Linked DNA regions of Homo sapiens: region 1 is linked to region 2. Evidence: promoter capture Hi-C in 16 types of primary human blood cells and fetal thymus (Javierre and others, 2016). All regions are on one chromosome and are shown on one strand. The core of a region is centred on a gene start or on the middle of the fragment in contact, and the rest is flanking DNA. Distances in the headings are between cores, read along the strand shown. Region 1 has its middle 120 kb from the start of EDN3. Region 2 holds the start of GNAS (GNAS complex locus).

Evidence for each region. Contacts are between HindIII fragments. The CHiCAGO score rates a contact against its expected background, and 5 or more counts as called.
Region 1: a fragment that was not itself captured here is called in contact with the fragment with the promoter of GNAS in region 2 in 1 of 17 cell types (naive CD8 T cells); the score reaches 5.7 in naive CD8 T cells.

What each region holds. Positions count from the first base shown.
Region 1 is chr20:59,415,134-59,418,460 of GRCh38, reverse strand. No RefSeq gene overlaps it. Among named protein-coding and RNA genes, the nearest start is that of EDN3, 120 kb to the right of the region's middle. The HindIII fragment of the contact is 6,355 bases long and covers 1-3,327 here.
Region 2 is chr20:58,890,057-58,892,670 of GRCh38, reverse strand. It overlaps GNAS (GNAS complex locus), which reads right to left and starts at 1,250. Exons shown (of 13, transcript NM_000516.7): 1 at 806-1,250. The coding sequence starts at 944. RefSeq lists silencers at 93-182, 1,053-1,272, 1,283-1,782, 1,843-1,992. The HindIII fragment of the contact is 29,581 bases long and covers 1-2,614 here.

The DNA of each region.
Region 1 (3,327 bases), core at 179-2,678, 530 kb before region 2:
GAGACGAAGAATTCTTCCCCACAAAGATAACACCAGATGTGAGGTCAGGAAACATGACCGGGTGAAGGGAAGAAGTGTGCCTGGAGCGTCTCTCTAGAACCCAGAGTCACCTTGGCCCTCCGTCACTCATCAGCTCTCCATGGCTCTGCCTACAGAACAAAGCCTGAATGGCCCAAGGCAGGGTTTGCTCTCTGCCCTGCACAGTGCTTGGCATATAGTGGGTGCCCAGTGGATGTGGGTGGAAGGAATGAACAAATGACATTCTCTGGGTGGCTTTCAAGACCCCCAGCATCTACTCAAACTTGTCTCCACTTCACCTTGGCTACAACCACAGGACACTCCTCCCCAGTGCCTGCTCTTTTGGGGAGCATCTCCCCTACCTAAGACCTTCAGCCACTCTTTGCACTGGACCACACCAGTGGCTGCCATCTCTCTCCTTCCCTGAAATCTACAAGTGGTGTTGTCCAGCGCCTTTATTTGGGATTATACTCTCCATGATTCTGCACGATCCCAGGGCCCCAAATATGTAGACACCCTGTCCCAGATTGCTATGACTACCACGACCCCAGGCACAGTAAAGAACCCTCTTCTCCAGAATCCAAGTGTACTTTTCCCTCTTTGAACATATTTTGGGAGGATTCTGTCATTGGGACCCTCTTTAACCTACACTGTCATTCTTTCTCTCATTTTCTCACCATCTTCGGCATTTCTATTTACAAGATTTTCTTCTCTTCTCTCATCAGTTACCCAATTCCTGGCGGTTCTGGCAATATCTTGACTGTACTGGAAGCCCGCTGGTCAAGATCAAGCTACCTTTAGGAACCCTGTTGGCTCCTAGTTCCTACCACACAATAAGCATGCTCTGAAACACAAACAGGAGGCTGCAAGAGCAACAGGGAACAGCAAGGAATGAGGCGCAATCATTCCATGGACAACTTCATGGTTATCCTTGGACTGAGTTCTGCCACGTCTCAGCATCTGAGGCCATCTGCAGAGCATTTGATGGAAAAAGGATAGGCGGTCTCTGAAACCTTCAGACAAGAGGCGCCGTCCAAATCATTTGTGACTTTTATTCTTCAATGTTTAATTGTACCTCCTCTGGGATAATATGGCCAATTTTTGAAAAACAACCATAGCAATAAATTTCCCATAATTTACTGCCAGATTAATAGTTTTGTAGTCAAGCTATTATTGTTTTAATAAGAAGAGAAAAAGAAAAACATGTGAAGAGGCTCTGTATGTTCCAGGGTGAGCTCATCAAGGCAGCCCGCTGGACATGCTGGGCAGGGAAAGCAGCCAGCGTGCCCCAGATGGTGGGGCCCTGGGGTCTCACGGGGAGGGGAGACAGGACCCTCGGCTGGGTGTTTGCCATCTACCCCTCACCCCACCAGGAGCAGCCTGAGCACAGGGGTCTCTGAGCTGCCTGGGTAAGACTCTCTAGATAGGTAAAGGAGAAATTTATTCTGCCCATGAAGGCAGGTAACATGGTCTTCCGGGAAACTCTACCTGCCTTTGTGTCACTCTTGGACAAGGACATTAGCCAGTGACACATCCATGATTTTGCCTCCTCTAGAACTGGGCAAGGGTTCCTAGTGGCAGGGTGGGGACAGGGTGGGCTCTGAGCCATTGGTTGGCAAAACATTGCTCCTCTGATGGCTTTATCTGGTGTCTCATGGCTTCTTCTCATCTCAGGCTTCACAACCATCATACTAACACAGCACCTTGAAAATTCAAAGACACAGCAATCCACAGAAAGACATACACGGAACCGTAAAAGCATCTTGCTGGCCTGGCGCAGTGACTCACACCTGTAATCCCAGCACTTTGGGAGGCTGAGACAGGTGGATCATCTGAGGTTGGGAGCTTGAGACCAACCTGGCCAACAGGGTGAAACCCCGTCTCTACTAAAAATACAAAAATTAGCAGGGCATGGTGGCATGCATCTGTAATCCCAGCTACTCAGGAAGCTGAGGCAGGGAAATTGTTTGAAGCTGGGAGGTGGAGGTTGCAGTGAGCCAAGATCGTGCCACTGCACTCCAGCCTGGGTGACAGAGTGAGACTCCATAAAAAAAAAAAAACAAAAAAAAAACACCTCTTGCTAAGTAAAAGAAGCCAGTTTGAAAAGTCCACATGCTGTGTGAGTCCAACTAGATGACATTCTGGAAAATTCAAAACTATAGAGACGTCAAAAGATCGGTGGTTGTTAGGAGTTCAAGGGGGAGGGAGGGACGAACAGGTGGAGCTCAGGAGATGTTTAGGGCAGTGAAATGACTCTGTATGATCCTGTAATTGAGGGCACGTGACATTATACATTTGTCAAAACCCATAGAATGTACACCACCAAGAGTCAACCCTCTTATGAACTTTAACTGATAATAATGCATCAATATTGGTTCATCAACTGTAACAAGTGTAGCATGCTAAGGCAAGATGTTAATGAAAATAGGATTATTGGGGGAGGGGTATGGGGCATGTGTGGGAACTCTCTGTGCTTTCTGTTCAATTTTTCCCTAAATGTAAAACTGCTCTAAAAAACCCAATCCTAGGGAATGTGCTTTGAAGCAAGATTCATCGCTGTCCCTTCCACTTCCCTGTGAGTAGCTCTTGTCTGGATCACCATCACCCCAACATCCCAGCCATGGGCCTCACTGGCTCTGCAGAATGCAATCATTCCCCAACCCTCTGAATCCATCTCCACCTGCTCTCTCCATCCTGTGACTTCTCCAGTTCAGGCACCACCCTCTCCTATCAGGCATTGTATTTTACCTCCTAGTGGGCCTTCAACTTTCCTGCTTTGGTCTAGAACAGTAGGAGCCTGCTCAGAACCCACCAAGCACAGGCCTTGCCAACTACTTGCCAGGCACACGGGGCTCTTCATGGTGGGGCCGCATGTGCCCACCCGCGCCTCTCCCTGGGGTGCCCAGCTCTGCTTCTCTCCTATGGCCCTCACAGATGCCCCTGCCCTCCCAGCCCGAAGCTCTGGCACCAAGCATGACGTATCACACACCATTTAGGTGACCACCTCTCTCCACAGATAGTGAGCTCCGATAATGCCTAGGTCTGGTCACTTTCACATTCCGGCCCTGACCCCCTACTCCCTGAACCTTGGGGATTGGCAATAAGTCCCACTGCAGTATTTGTTGGATGAAGTGCAATTGGCCATCATCAAACCTAACATTCTAGACCCATGGAGTAGCCGAATCTCCGTGCTCCTCACCCAGAGGACAATTTGTACACTGGCGCCAGTGGCTTAGAAAGCTACGTTAAGCATCTTTGCAATTCCGCCACGGTTTGCTCCTCTGAGAACATATTTAATTACTGGAATGT
Region 2 (2,614 bases), core at 1-2,500:
CCGGGACACGTCTGCTCCGCGCACACACAGTCAGTCGGTCCTGCCCGAAACGCACCAAGTCGCGCCCAGCGGCAACCGCCCTCCCTCCTCCCCTCGCCGCCCCCCTCCCGACTCCGGCGCCACGACTCCCTTGCGCCCCCTCCCCCCCACTGCACCACCTTTACCGCTCCGATCCTTTCCGAGGGGCTGATGTCACCAGCCCCCCCACTCTCCTCGGCCACTTCTCCCCGCCAAAGCCTCCCTTTGGCGAGGCCCCCTCCGCCACCACGGCGCCCCCCAGCGTCACCCCCTCCTCTCCTCGCCCCTTTCTTCCCCTCTTTCCCTCTCCCAACAAATCTCACACCCCACGGAGGCGGGTCCCCCTCCCTCTACCCGCCACCCGGTTTCCTGTCCCCGAAACCCTCTTTTTGTCGCAGTCTCCGGAGCCCCATGGGCTCCCCCTCCCCCTCCCCAACACGCACCCAAACCCCTGGCGTCGTGTAGGCCTCGCGGAAAAAGAGAGAAAGAGAGAAAGAGGGGGAGAGCGAGAGCGAGAGCAAGAGAGAGACACTGAGCGGGCAGGCCGGGGGAGGGGGACCCGCGCCCGCGTCGCCACGGCCCCCCGCCCCGTTTTTGAGCCCCCGCCCGGCCGAATCCGCGCCCCTGGGTCCCCCTTCCGGCCTCGCCCCCCACAGACAGAGCCCGCGAACGGGCGGGGGGCTCGGGAGCGCGCGCCCGGGGCGGGGGGCGGGCTCGGCGCGCGCGGCCTGCGGGGCGCCCTTCGAGGGCCCCCGGGCCGGGGCCGGCGCCCCCCGCCCGCCCTTACCCAGCAGCAGCAGGCGGTGCGTGGCCCGGTAGACCTGCTTGTCCTTCTGCAGCTGCTTCTCGATCTTTTTGTTGGCCTCACGCTGCGCCTTCTCCTCGTTGCGCTGGTCCTCGGTCTTACTGTTCCCGAGGCAGCCCATGGCGGCGGCGGCGGCGGCGGGGCGCGGCCGGGCTGCGGCGGCGGCGGGCGCGGGCGGCCTCACGCGGGCCGGGAGGGCCGGGGCAGCGCCGGGCGGGCGGGCCGGGCGCGGGCTCGGCTCCTCGGCAAGGAGCGCGCGGGGCGGACTGCGGGCCGCGGGCCGCGGGGCGCGCGGACGGGCGGGAAGGGGAGGGTGTCGGTCGGACCGAGGGGCGCGCGCAGCTCCCCGCCCCTCGAGCCGAGGCCGAGGGGGCTGATGGCCGCCGCCGGGCCGAGGCGGACCAGAGCAGGAGCTGCGGGAGCTGCTGCCGCCGCTGCCGCCGCCGCCGCTCTTATTGCCTCGGCCGGGCCCCCGCCGCCGCCCCGAGCCAAAAGCGCCGCGGCGGGCGGGGGGAGGCGGGGGGAGGAGGAGGCGGCGGCGGCGAGGGGGGTGGAAGGAGGAGGAGGAGGAGGAGGGCCGAGGAGCGGCCGCGGCGGCGGCGGCGGCTGGGAGGGCGGGAGCCGGCGGAGGGAGGCGGCCCCCCGGGAGCCCGGGGAGGGGGTCCCTCCGCCCGCGCCCGGCCGGGGACGGGACGGGCCGGGGAGACGCCCCCCACCCCCCGGGCTCGGGCAGCAGCCCGGCTGAGCCGAGGGGGGAGAGGGGGCGTCTCCGCGCCAGTGACGACCCCTCGCACGACGCCAACGCTCCACCCCCCGGACCGCGTCGCCCGGCGCCCCCGAGGCCTCCTCCCCCTCCCGCGGGCGCCGCCGAGGGGCTGGGGTGGGCGGAAGGGGAGGGAGCGCGCGCCCGGACTTAGGAAAATTTTCGAAAGAGCGAGAGACACAGAGAGCCAGAGAGCAGGAGTGTGGAAAAAGCGAGGCGAGCACGAACCAAAGGACAGAGCAACCGAAAAGGAAAATGTGTCCACACACACACACGAACACGAATAAAAACCCACACTACACAGCGATGGTGGTGTCTGGTGGCGGTGGCGGGGTGGGGGGTCTGACTAGATGAGCCGCTCCTCGCGCCCCCGGCGCCGGGCGCCATGGCCCGAGCCGAAGGCGCCTCTGGCCCCGGAGCGCCCGCGGCCTCTGCGCTTGGCGCGGCCGCCCAAGTAGGAGAAGAAGGCGCAGCCCAGGAACACTCGGAAGCAGCAGGTCGCCCCGAACACGAAGCCGCAGCCGCGGCCCTGCTCCGTGCGCTTCTGCAGCAGGAAGTTGAGCACCCACGAGGGGCTGCGCACCGAGAAGACCAGGAACACCACGAGGGGCAGGTGGGCGCTCAGCGCGCCAGCCTTGAGCGGCCCGGGCCGCCACACGATGCCCCCAACGCGCGGCGCCGCGTAGTAGGCGTCGTCCTCGTCGCTCGAGTCCGTGTCCCAGTCAGCCCAGGCCCTACTCGTGCCCCCGGCGGCGGCGCCCTCCTCGGCGCCCCCGACGGCGCCCTCCTCGGCGCCCTCGTCGTCGTCGGCGGCGGCCGCGGCGGCGGCGGCCTCGGGGCATCGGGCCTCCTCCTGGGCTTCTGGCACCTTCTTCTTCTTCTTCTTCAGCATCTTCTCCATCTTCTTCCTCTCCTTCTCCTTCTTCTTCTCCTCCTTTCGCCTCTGCTCCAGCAGCTTCTTCTCGAGCTTCTTGCGCTCCTTGTCTGTTAGGAACTTTTCGGGGAGCGCCTCCCGCGCCGGGTTCTTG